Linked DNA regions of Homo sapiens: all the other regions are linked to region 1. Evidence: promoter capture Hi-C in 16 types of primary human blood cells and fetal thymus (Javierre and others, 2016). All regions are on one chromosome and are shown on one strand. Each heading gives the region's core, a stretch centred on a gene start or on the middle of the fragment in contact. The rest is flanking DNA. Distances are from core to core; before and after follow the strand shown.

What was found. Contacts are between HindIII fragments. The CHiCAGO score rates a contact against its expected background, and 5 or more counts as called.
Region 2: a contact is called between a fragment that was not itself captured here and the fragment with the promoter of GRAMD1B in region 1, in 1 of 17 cell types (fetal thymus). The highest score is 5.2, in fetal thymus.
Region 3: a contact is called between a fragment that was not itself captured here and the fragment with the promoter of GRAMD1B in region 1, in 1 of 17 cell types (fetal thymus). The highest score is 5.5, in fetal thymus.

The regions. Positions count from the first base shown.
Region 1 is chr11:123,427,133-123,431,585 of GRCh38, reverse strand. GRAMD1B (GRAM domain containing 1B) reads right to left here and starts at 1,317. Exons shown (of 20, transcript NM_001387025.1): 1 at 420-1,317. The coding sequence starts at 793. It overlaps LOC124902776 (a long non-coding RNA gene), which reads left to right and starts at 372. Exons shown (of 2, transcript XR_007062928.1): 1 at 372-639; 2 at 2,770-4,453. RefSeq lists silencers at 690-739, 850-1,179. The HindIII fragment of the contact is 5,032 bases long and covers 1-3,586 here.
Region 2 is chr11:122,745,612-122,750,220 of GRCh38, reverse strand. All of the region lies in intron 1 of UBASH3B (ubiquitin associated and SH3 domain containing B), which reads right to left. Among named protein-coding and RNA genes, the nearest start is that of CRTAM, 91 kb to the left of the region's middle. RefSeq lists an enhancer at 955-1,004. The HindIII fragment of the contact is 221 bases long and covers 2,224-2,444 here.
Region 3 is chr11:122,698,939-122,702,988 of GRCh38, reverse strand. All of the region lies in intron 1 of UBASH3B (ubiquitin associated and SH3 domain containing B), which reads right to left. Among named protein-coding and RNA genes, the nearest start is that of UBASH3B, 45 kb to the right of the region's middle. The HindIII fragment of the contact is 1,103 bases long and covers 1,519-2,621 here.

The sequences.
Region 1 (4,453 bases), core at 68-2,567:
TGTAGAAAGGGAGCCATAGTAATACCTACCTCAGAGAGTTTGCGTAGGGATGAAATCTGGAGGTACATGAAGTGCGCAACATAGTGGCCCGCACATGGTAAGGGCTCAATAACTATTAGCTGTTATTATTTTTATTATTTATTTCGCTGCGAGGATCAAGGGAGATGGAATGCAGCGTAAAGCCCCACGTAAACGTGTCGTGCAACATGAAGCCCCTCACCCTGAGTTGGGGAGCGGGTGGCACGCGTGGAAGCTGAATGCCACCATCCCTGGGACCAGGCGCAGCGCCCTCCAGAAGCGCCTCTGGTGACGGGCTCCTGTTCTCCCCCAGGACGTTTCCCCCAGAATGCCCCGGGGCCCTGGACGGCTCTGGAGAGGACGGGAGGGAAGGGAAGGAGACGGGCGGAACGGGGACGTACCTGCTTTCACTGCACTCCTTCCGCTCCCTCACCCTCAGCCACTTGCGGAGGAGGAAGCGTTTTCGGCGCGGGGACGCGCTGGGTGTGGAGCAGTTGGACCACGGGGTGTCCTCGTCGCTGGAGGGCGTGATCTCGATGGACGGCAGCTGCAGGAACTCCTTGCCGGGGGCCAAGACGGCGGGCAGGTCCCGGGCCAGCCCGGCCTCCAGGCTCTGCTCCTGTACGTTCTTCATGCGGCGCATCTTGAAGCGCCGGCGGCGAAGCGTGGGGGTCGACGAACTGGACCAGACCGGGCTGCCCTCGGGCGCACCCTGCGGCTCGGGCACCTGCAGGGCGGGCAGCGGCCGGTTCTCCATCATGTTGGCCGCCGGCATGGGGGCCGTCGCCTCTGCGCTCCCCCTGAGCCCTCCGCCAGCGGCCTGGTTCGCGTCTCCCTCTGGCTGTTCCCCACCCTCGGCCCCGCGGCACACTCCCCAATCCTGGGGCCGAAGGAACAAGTTCCTTTCCCGGAGCGCAGCGAGGAAGGGACGCGAGGGGACGCGGCGTAGCGCGCCGCCGCCCGGAGTCTAACTTTTCGGAGCGCGCGTCCTCCGGGCCGTCAGCCGCCGGCGAGGCCACCCGGGAGGGGCGGGAGCCGCCTGCCAGCCACTCGGCAGCCCTCCTGGGGCTCCCCTCGCGCGCCCGCTTGTTTTTCTTCCGCTGCGCTTCCTCGCTTGCTGGCGTCTTTGCCTTAGCGGGACTCGGCAGCCAGGGGCCCCAGGGGGCGGTGCAGCAAACTCTCAGCGGTTTGCGTTCAGCAGACCAGGTTGGGGAGCCGGCTTGGCGCTGCAGGGAGGTAGAGAGCGGGAGGAAGAGGCAGTGGTAGGAGGGAAAGGGAGAGAGAGACAGAGAGAGAGAGAGAGAGAGGAAGCGAGACACTGGATAAAAACAAAAAAGGAGGAGGAGGAGCGGGGGCTGGGGGCGGGGTGAGGGGGGCTATCCTGAATGGGCTAGCACTGGCAGCGACCGCTAGTGTAACTGTACACGGATTCCCTCGGGGAGGGACTCGACCTCCAAGTAAAGGCTGCTCCAATCAGCCTACTGAAATAGGATCACAAACCAAACTTTCTCAGGGCAACGATTGGCCAGGCAACTCCCATTAGTCGAACTCGGCTATTTCCTTGGGGGTGGGGGGTGCAGAGAAAGGGGAGTCAATGAATTCAGTCCTCACTCTCTCAGGCCACCCATGATACAGGGTTGAAGGAAAATGAGGAGACTTTTCAACTAGCTCTTGTCTCCTAAGAAAGGCAGTTTAAATTATTTGGGGGCGTGAGTAGTGGCACTGCAGGCCGGAGTATAGTCAGAGGAGGAAAGCAAGGTTGCTGGAGGCTGCTTCCAAAATGACAAGCTGAGAAGAGGACAGTTCTCCCGTGGCGGCGTGAGCTGAGGATACCAGACATGACATACCAAGGAAAGACAGACAACAGGGTCTGAGAGACAAAGGACACAGGACCAGTAAGGAAAATGGGGCCTGAACCCTGTACATGAGCCAGCTGCCAGTACCATAGCCGCGTCCCTAGCAAAGAATGAAATGAGGAGTCGGTGAGCACCCACAAAGCAATGCATCCAACAGAGCCCCAGGGAGTCGAGGGTACCCCCCCTTACATTGCTGAGGGCTGATTCAGTTCTGCTTCAGCCTGCCATGGACTGAGTCACAGAATCCAGTATGTCCCCATGTCATGGAACCTAGGAAGTCTGGTTCAGTCCTGGTAGCATCCCAAGATGTGCTGAACCACACTCACTCTCTAGACCCAGGCCCTAAGAGATCATCAACCCTAGAACCGATCCATCCTATTTAGGTGCTCTCTGTGGGCACTGAGTCTAACCCAGCCCAGCTCCTAGAGCAGGGCTGTAGCAGCCATTCTCCTCCTTCAACCCCAGCCCAATGCATTTGTCTCTTGGGTCAGTAACTGTTTTGTTTTGTTTTGTTTTTAAGAGACAAAGTCTCACTCTGTTGCCCAGGCTGGAGTGCAGTGGTGCAGTCATGGCTCACCGCAACCTTGAATTCCTGGGCTCAAGCTGTCCTCCCAGCTGAGCCTCCTGAGTAGCTGGGAGTACAGGTGCGCACCACCACACGCAGCTAAGTTTTATTTCTTTTTGTCGATATGAGGTCTTGCTATATTGCCCAGGCTGGTCTCAAACTCCTGGCCTCAAGTGATCTGCCCACCTTGGCCTCCCAAAGTGCTGAGATTACAGGCATGAGCCACCATGCCCAGCCTGGTCAGTAACTTTCAAAGAGATCATGAGAAGCACCCAAGAACATACCATGAAGTCCACAATCTGATCCACCCTTCTTTTCTGCCTCTCTCAGAGTCCAGTTTCCATCTGGGAGCCAATGCCCAGCTTCCGTGCCAGGACAAAAGTCACATTTCACAAGTGTCCCGAAGCTGAGGAAAATTCACATCCCTAAAGATCACAAGAATTCACTGCAAGTAAATACATCCCTGCAGTTCAGCAAGACATCAAGGATGACAGCTGGCTATGGATCTACCAAGCTCTGCAATGACACTTGTCAAGTATGGAAAAGCTCAAGGCATCCTGACATTACACAACTTTTGAGAGGCTGGGAAACCAAGGGAAATATTTCTTCCTCAGGGAGAGAGATACTGCGGCTGAAGAGCCAAGGCCAGGCCCTCCCATAAATGACTCCCTGGAATGTCAGCCCCCGTTTCTGAAATCCAGCCACTGGCCCTCTCAGGAGTGATTTGGTTTCACTCTACTTTAACTCCTGGACATAGCACAGAAAGCAGAAACCCCTTGCCATCAGGTGTCAGGCCTGCCAAGGTCACCTCTTCCGGCTCCAGGGATGCTGAGGAGATTGCACTGTAACTCCAAACTTCAGGATCGGGAGCTAAGCCAAGTTCCACAGAGTTTGTTCACTGCCTTGTACTTCCTCCAAGGACGAGTGTTTTGCAAGGGATCTGATAACTTCCCAGTTCAAGGAACCTGAGTTTTGGGCGGGCTCTTGACATAGAAGATGAGGGTCTCAGGGGCTTATGGGAAGAAAGGAAGCCAGGACACCACCATTCGCTTGGAGGCCAAAAACACAAAAGGATGGTCCACAAGACAGGGGCCAGAAGATTCTATGGGCAGCTTGGGAAGAGGGAGAAGAAACAAGGGAGGAAGCTTTAAGTTTGTTCTGGGCACTCTGAATTTAAGTGTATACCTCTTACAAGGAAGAAAAGCCACCAGCACCCTCTTCCCACACACTTCAGCCACTTTTCCCACTCACAGTAGATTCTGGAACTGAAATCCTGTGAGATTTAATTCAAGCCTTGGGCACAGCAGTGGCTAAGAGTGATCATTTACATTTCACCCGGCCTGAGGGAAAACCTCCAAGCAGGAATCTAAAATGTTTCACTTGATTGGGAAGCAGATACCCTGAGCTCTCTTAGCCTGAACGCTGTCCTTACTCACTTGCACCTGCAGTCCCTTCTTTTTTTCAAGCCATAACCCTTTTGACCGTTAAAACCCTGTTCAAAACACATCCTTCAGCCCTTTCCAGCTGTTTCTGTTGCCCATGGCTCTGGCAAGTAAGATAATAAATGAGGCACTGCTTTGAAATATGAAATGCCCTACAGCTGTGAGCCAACATTACTGTTAAGACTATAAGCTCCTTGAGAAAAGAATCAAGTTTCTCCTTCCTTTAATTCTCTCCAGTATCCTGTGCTTGTTATGTGTATGGTGACCTTTACACTTTTGGAAAGAGCTTTCATACATCACACTGTGTCTTCCCAGCGGCCTTTACAATTGATGAAAGTGGGACAGAGAGATTCAGTAGTTTATCCAAGGTCACAGATAAATGATGATGGCTAATCAATGACAAGGCCAGAATTGGAACTCATGCCTTCTGAAGCCAGTTTAGAGGCCTCCAAAAGTGTAGAGAAACAATTTCTCAAAGTAGCTGGTGCCAACATCAGAACCAAAGAGTTTTCATGCCCTGCGTCAGAATCTCAGCGATTGCACTTGCTCCCCAAGTCTCCCCACTCCCATAT
Region 2 (4,609 bases), core at 1,085-3,584, 680 kb after region 1:
TGATGAGCCGTTCCCCTAGCCCAGGCAGCATCGGCCTGAGGAACAGGTGTTGCACTCAGAAACACTGAATATGGGGTCACAGGATCTGACTTTGAGCCTTGGCTCTGCTATTTATCAGCAGGATTTGAAGAAAATCTCTCTGGGCATTGGCATCTCATCTATAAAAGTGGTTTAAGAATGATTACCTTGGCCAGGAGCAGTGGCTCACACCTGTAATCCCAGCACTTTGGGAAGCCAAAGCCGGCATATCACTTGAGGCCAGGAGTTTGAGACCAGCCTGGCCAAGATGGCAAAAACCCATCTCTACTAAAAATATAAAAATTAGCCTGGTGTGGTGACGCATGCCTGTAATCCCAGCTATTTGGGAAGCTGAGGCACGAGAATAGCTTGCGCCCAGAAGGCGGAGGTTGCAGTGAGCCGAGAAAGCGCCACTGCATTGCAGCCTGGGGGACAGAGCGAGACTCTGTCTTAAAATAAAATAAATAAAATAAAATAAAATAGAATGATTACCTCTCAAATAGCGATTACTCTGTTAGAGTTAGAAGACAGTGTGGTGCAGTGGTCAGACCCATGGACTGATGCACAGTCCTGGATTTGAATTATGTTCCCTTGTTCACTAGCTGTGAGGCCCTTGGTCAATTCACTAAATAGAGCTAACCCTCAGCTTCTGACAATAGAGAATGGAACAATACAGAGAGGGTTGTTTGGAGGTTTTTACAGACTCAATGCGTGGTGCACAGTTGGCACCCAATAAGCCTTCTTTGTTAATATTACAGATGTAAGATGCAAAGCACAATGCAAATGCAAACAATTGTGATTATTTTCTAGGTTTAAGGCAAGTGTTGCCAATACATGAAGTGCTTTGCATATAGTAAATGCATAATAAGTCTGTGCTAATTATAGCATCCATAGAAGCAGTTTCGCTCTGGAATGCAGCTCAGAGATTAGTATCATTTGCAATAACTACATTCCAGGCTGCCAGCCCCACAAATTAGACACCAACTAAAGACATGCAGTACATGATTCAGCTGTATCTCAGGGGAGGGCTTCTGATGACAGCCAAAGCCACAAGGGATCCGATCTGAGTACTTTCGATGTGTCAGCAGAAGGCTCTTCCTCTCACAGTGATGATGCACATACTGCTATGTGTAGTATGGGGCACACAGTGTGCTGGGACCTCTCCAGGTCCAGGAGAACATAAAGCTGTCGTGGACTGTCTTGGCCATGAAAACATTCTCCATGTAGGCGTAGCCAAAGTTGAGGGTTCTGGCAGAGGTGATGTGTTCTTTAAAAAATAAAAATTAATTTAAAAAAAAGAAAGAAAAAACAAGGGCTCTCTTTCCTTCCGTGTACTCACTCTTTTGCTGACATCCAAGGGACTTGTTAAGTGGCAAATCAGTATTAAGCACAAGCGTGTGCAAGAGACCCAGGGACTGTGACACAGTTTGGGGTTGGTAGGCGCTTAGAGTTGGGTGGGCAGCAGGCCTTGCATTTAGCCTCACGTCACTGCGACCCTTGGATGGACACTCACAGAGCTCTTGTGTCTTGTTCTGGGTTCACAATCTTCTGTGGACGGGAGGAAATGGAGGTATTCAAAGAATCAAGGAGAAGATGAAAATGTCAAGAAATGCTTTGTAGTAATAAATTGCATAAACGTAAATTATTTAGCCCAACCTAAAGGAAGCTAAACTGAGATTAAATGACATTAACAACAGGCTGTTTTCCATTTCCACTGAGGGAAAAGCAAGTAAGGAAGAGAATTCTCCGAGTGCACAGGGAGCTGGGATGGCGCGTGCCCGTCTATAGGGGCAGCTGGGATGAAACCAGACTGGAGGTATGTTGATCGTTACTGAATCTGGATGAAGATACATGGGGGTTCATTACACTATCCTCTCTGCTTTTGTGAATGTTGATAATTTCCAAAAAGTTAAAACAATGAAAGAAAGATGGCAGCTGCTACTCAACTCCCACCTACAGCTGAAAGGCAGAATGACGGTCTGAAGTTGTCCACACCGATTTGTTTGGAATGATGGATTTTGTCAGTTTTAAACCACTATGTGAAGTCGCTCCACCTTTTCTTATTTGCCACAATGTGTTTCTTCCAACACAAGGGAGGTATTCTTGCTCTCCTTTTGCAGGATCCTCCTTTTGCAGGATTGGGGGACTGAGTGTGCAGACTTTTGTCCCAGTTAATGATTTCATAGCTGCTGCTACTTACAAGCTTATCATGTGTAACGTGGTGTATGTACTATGCTCTTTACCTGCATTGTATCATTTAACCCTCACAACAGTCAGCTCATTATTATCCCTGTTACACAAATGAGGGAACAGAGGCTTTGAAAGGTTAAATAGCTCACTCAAGGGAATATATGGATCTTAGGTCACAAAGGCAGGATTTGAAACCAGGCAGTTTGAGTTCCTCTCCATGCCTGTGCTATGAAGCTTACTTAAACTTTGGCATCCTCCCTTTGTACTTTCCAGATAGAACAGCTCTAATATTTTCATTGCGTCTCTATAAAGAAAGCTTTCAGAAGCTTAAAGACGTTCCCCAGCTTTGACTCTGTCTCCAAACGTACAGGAACCCAAACCACCCAACATCACTCCAGCTGCAGATGCTATTGTTTATAATATGTTATCCCGCTTCTTTCTCACAGCAGTCCCAACGGGGGCTCAGTCAAGTCTCATAACTCTCTAAGGACACAGAGCCATGGCCCAGCCCACACTCCCCAGGACTCTGGTGTATTTTTCTCCCCTCCTATCTGATGCTGCCTCTAGGTCCTAAGCTCAGCACTGTCCCCACAGGGTGCCTTACATGCACAGTGAGAGAATAACATTTCCCCAAACTCCTTGGCTGGTGTCATCAGGACAATTCCACTCCACTGGTTCTGGGTCTATTAACTCATTCTGTTCTCAGTGCATAAGCTCTTGCTAAGACGATTTTAGGGGTCCTATTGGCTGCTGGTTTCACTCTCCCTTTCATTCTCCAATTTATAGTCCACCCTCCACCAAGACTAGAATAATCTTTCTTAACCATTAATCTAGATCACATCACTGTCCTGCTTAAAATCCTGCAGAGGTTCCCCATATCCTTGGCCATGCCTGTGCTGGCCCCTGTCAGCCCAGCTGCCTCTCCGGTGACCACCCCCACCCCGCAGCCTCTGCTTCAGCCAGGAGCCTCGGCAGTTTCCAAAACACACCCTGGTGTTCTCTCTGTTGAACCTTTGCCCACTTTGCTTTTTCTGCTGGGATTGTCCACATTCCCCCTTTTCTGCCTAATGAATTTAAAGGATGACTTTAGGTCAAGATTTCACCATTCAGCGAAATCCTTTCTGAATCACAAATCCCCCCTCACGGCCCCTCCCACACTTTACCTATCCATCACTCCCAGTGGACTGTAAGCTCTTTGGAGATAAGACTCCATATCTGTTTAACTTGGTGCCTTCAAAACTGAGCACACGGTAAATGCCCTGAACTATTCATGAAATAAGTACAGAATGAATAAATCCTCCCGACTTCCCCACCACAGATAGCAGAGCAGCTCTCTTCGGAAGTCTCATAGCACTCTCTACCATTCTTCTATTAGCCCTTCCAGTCTTATCTCTAATTATTTCCTTCTATGTCTATTTTTCCCACTACATTGGAAGCATTCTTCTCCATTAGACTCTGAGATCTTCAAGGGTAGGAGGTAAAGGCCTGAGCACAAAGCCCAGCACATAGTAGGTGTTTAATTTATTGATTGAATGAAGTGACGCTTTCTTGTCAAACTTAATCACCCGGAGGCACCATCTTATACCTCAGATAACTTCCGCGTCAATACAGTGGTTTGAGTTTGTTCACGCTGAAGCAACCTTCCACTTGTCCGCCCACTCATATCTTAGGGGATCCTCCCCTCCTCTACCCTTTTGGCATGGAACCTCCCTACCGAAAGAGCTCTGTGTCACCCATAGACGTGTGAGTTTCAGTCTGAACTTCCTTTTTCAGGTTATTTATAAAAACGTAAAAGCTGCCCTACTCAATGCCAGCCACTGTTGAAACACTATCCTTTGCATGGTCCCTGGGCCTTAGCTCAGTCCTAGGTTGCCATCTTTGTAGTGTATATCTTTCATGACACAAGGGCGGGCACGGAGCCTTCATCTAATTATCCGTCTGCCCACCCACCCATCCGTTCATCCATCCCACACATGTTGAACATCTAAGAAGGACGAGGTCCCGTGCCAGGCTCTGGGAACTTCAGTGATAGACAAAACAAAGTCTCTGGCCTCAAGGAGCTCAGCTGAGACAGAAAACAAACACAGAGCAAATAATCGTAATGCTGTGATATACGTGCTCCCCCAGTCATTTAAAGCATGCAGGTGGGTCACCTATCGGGAGATGACCTCTGCCCCAGAAGGGACAGGATTTGAGCTGGGCCTTGATAGATAAGTGGGATTTTGCTACCCAGACAAGAGTGACGGAACAGCGGGTGCAATGGGGGAAGGGACCCAAGAAGTCACAAGGTGGTCACAGGAGTGAGAGAGGGCATGGCAGGGGAGATGAAGCTTATCCATTTATATTTTCTCACTAAGGGAAAATTTTTGTTTTCAAAGCCTGTGGGTCAATAATATCTTTG
Region 3 (4,050 bases), core at 821-3,320, 730 kb after region 1:
TTTGTTTATAGAATGAGTGAATAAATGAGAAAACAAATGATGAGTGAATGCAGAATCAGGATTAGTAGTAAGTTTTATAGCAATTCCACTCCTTCATTTAATGATGTTAGTATAATTCAAAGATGAGTGAGGAGAATATAAATTTTTCCTGAGTTAAAAATCTGGCCAGGCACGGTGGCTCACGCCTGTAATCCCCAGCACTTTGGGAGGCCGAGGCGGGTGGATCACCTGACGTCAGGAGTTAGAGACCAGCCTGGCTGACATGGTGAAACCCTGTCTCTACTAAAAATACAAAAATTTGCCGGGTGTGGTAGCATGCGCCTGTAATCTCAGCTACTCGAGAGGCTGAAGCAGGAGAATCGCTTGAACTCGGGAGGCAAAGGTTGCAGTAAGCTGAGATCGCACCATTGCACTCCAGCCTCGGCGACAAGAGCAAAATTCCATCTGAAAAAAAAAAAAACCTGGTGATTTTTTTTCCTACTGCTTACTGTTTTATCTGTTCCCCAAAACTCCAAACACGTTTCTTGCAACCTAGGGTTCTCTGAAATCTCCAATCTGACCTTGAACGATGAAGGCAAGGGATCTCCGTGCTTGGTAGGGGTAGGGTCCTATATTATACTTTATGTGATGATATTCTCTGGCCTCCTTTAAGTACTTTAAAAAGATCTTTATTTTAGACTCTTCTCTCTCCATGCTGATGTCATTAGTATTCTGGATGAAATGTTTCCTTGCACGTAACTATGTTGGACTTGGATTCATTACTAAAGCAAATAATTCGGTTTTCCTAGGAACAAATGCTACTTTTCCTCATGGGCTGTTTGCTGACCATCCCTCTTGGTTGAGCATACGCTGCATTACTTGGAAGCCACATGTTAGGACTAAGGGAGACATAGAGAAGTAAAGAACACAGCATCTGTCCTCAAAGAAACGGTCGTCTTCACTGGGAGGGAAGATTGAAATGTGGCATTACAGCTGGGCGTGGTGGTTCACACTTGTAATCCCAGCATTTTGGGAGGCCGAGGCAGGAGGATCACGTGAGCCCAGGAGTTTGAGGCTGCGGTGAGCATGATCATGCCACTACATGCCAGCCTGGGTGACAGAGCAAGACACAGTTTCTTGGAAACAAACAAACAAACAAACATGGCAGTACGAGGGCTCAGAAGGGAAGATGCTAATATATTCACTCAGAGTTCAGAAAAGGCAGATGGTTTGCTTTGGGCAAAAGTTGTCAGGAGAGGTTTTCAGACCAAAGCAAGGACATCTTGAGGGGAGAGTCAAAAGGAAAGAATTAATCCTATTTTCAGCTCTCTATCCCTGAATACTCTTAGTTCCTTCAAGCAGCAGTGGGCTAACAAGTGATGCTACAGGACCGTATGCCAATGCAAGCGAGGACCCTGTGACCTTCAACAGACCTCTGCGTCACCATGGAGCTTTGAGATGAGTGTCAGAAGGAAGAACAAGCTCATTTTGAAAAGTACACAGACGTTGGAAACTGTGAGTATTACCCAAAAAAAAGCTTGAAAGGCTCCCATCCCCATCGGGTGACCAGCAGAACTTGCCACTGCAAGAGCCTCGTTCTCATTAATAAGAGTTCATTTTATTATTTCCATGCTATGTAATTTCTCCCACTGCCTTTTAGACTGGAACATTCAACTTTTTGCACTTCATATTAATTACCCTGGGGGATTCAGGCTACAGTGCACAATAAGAAGACCCAATTAGAACATTGCCTACTGTCTTTTTGTTTCTTTGTAATCCAAAATCAATCAATAACATCCTTAAATCCTCACAAGAAATGACTAGAGTTATTAACGTCTTGGACAAAGAAGCCAAGAAATTCAAAGCAGATGGAGCAGAATCACACAAATCACACAACCATGCAAATTAGTAGCAGCCCGTGGGCTTGACAGGGTCAGAATGCTGGGGGTTGGGAATTTTTAATATGAAACAGAAAATATACCCCATAACACTAATGTTCTTTTTGTGATGAGACGTGATGATTCTGGTTTAATGTGGAGCAGGGTGTCTTCAGGAGCTCTGAGAAAACACAGGCTTCCCAGTGCTCATCTACATAGCACATCCCTGTCTGGGACAGTTTACTGTTCACCCTACATGAAGTGTTCTCTCACCTGTCAGAAACACACTTCCTCTACAAATTGCATCCCCTACTGTTAACATCAAGATCAGAAGTAGGCCAGGTGCTTTGGCTCATGCCTATATTCCCAGCGCTTTGGGAGGCCGAGGAGGGTGGATCACCTGAGGCCAGGAGTTCAAGACCAGCTTGACCAACATGGTGAAACCCCATCTCTACTAAAAATACAAAATTTAGCTGGGTGTGGTGGTGAGCACCTGTAATCCCAGCTACTGGGGAGGCTGAGGCAGGAGAATTGTTTGAACCCGGGAGGTGGAGGTTGCAGTGAGCCGATATCATGCCACTGCACTTCAGACTAGGTGACAGAGCGAGACTCCATCTCAAAAAAAAAAAAAAAAAGATCAGAAGTAAACTATGAGAGTGAGTAAGATGAACATATGAACATTTACATTGAAAAATGTGAAAAAAACTTAAGATGTAATGGTGTTTGGAAAAGAATTGTTAACTGTATCCACTAAACCATAAAGCTTAACAAAATCCCAAACTTGGGAAATGAATTTTAAAAATGGACTCACCATGTGTAACTCTGGTCAGAGCCTAAACAAAGGAGGAGACAAAGCTTATGATGTCAGCCCATCTCATTCAGCACTGGGGACTTTGTGCTAGTTCAAAGTGTTGAGGAATTGGATCTCTACCTAATCATAAGAGACTGACCTCTTCCTCACTCCAACAGCGGTGCTGCTCCCGGGGGAATGATGGTTACCTCAGTTTCTCTTGGCCTCTCAGATGTGCAGCATGTCGGGTCTCCGCTAGTACCCACACATGATACCTCATGCTGCAAACCTACCCACTGAATACGGCCAAGTGAATAAAGCACCACCAACAACACGACCTCTAGTTCCACTGCTGGGCTCTGGGTACCATTGTCAATTCCTTGATCGATTTCCAAAGCTAAACAATAATATTTACGTAAACCTTAATAGATTACAAGACATTGAAATATCAGTCATCTGGGCTGGGCATGGTGACTCATGCCTGTAATCCCAGCACTTTGGGAGGCCGAGGCAGGTAGATTACTTGAGCTCAGGAGTTCAAGACCAGCCAGAGCAACATGGCGAAACCATGTCTCTACAAAAAAATACAAAAATTATCTGGCTGTCATGGCATTTGCCTCTAGTCCTAGCTACTCAGGAGGCTGAGGTGGGAGGATCGCTTGAGCCCTGGAGGCGGAGGTTGCAGTAACCAGAGATTGCACCACTGCACTACAGCCTGGTGGCAGAGGGAGACCTTGTTTCAAAAAAAAAAGAAAGGAAAGAAAGAAAAGAAAGAAAGAAAGAAAGAAAGAAAGAAAGAAAGAAAGAAAGAGAAAGAAAGAAAGAGAAAGAAAGAAAGAAAGATTTAAAAAGAAAAATCAGTCATCTGATGTGTTTCTCACAATAATTTTGGAAGGTGGATAATATTATCCACAGGCATTTCACAGAAGAAGAGATAGCATAGAGGTTGCAGGAAATGCCAAGAACACATAGCAGCTTCCTAAGATTCAAACTCAATTCGGTGACTCCACGTGCCACACTCCTCTGAGTTGTGAGTTCTCTAAGATGAAGATCACATTTTTCCATCTGTAAGACACTGAGTGTTGCCATGAGGATTAAATAAAATAACCTAGGTACAGCAGGCACCTAATAGATACCAGTTCCCTCCCATGCCCCTCCTCCATCAGGGGCGAAAAGATTTAAAAATAATCCCAATCCGGGCGCAGTGGCTCACGCCTGGAATCCCAGCACTTCGGGAGGCCAAGGCAGGTGGATCACCTGAGGTCAGGAGTTCGAGACCAGCCTGGCCAACATGGAGAAACCCCGTCTCTACTAAAAATACGAAAATTAGCTGGGTGTGGTGCTGGGCACCTGCAGCCCCAGCTATTCAGGGGGCTGAGGCACGATAATCGCTTGAACTGGGAG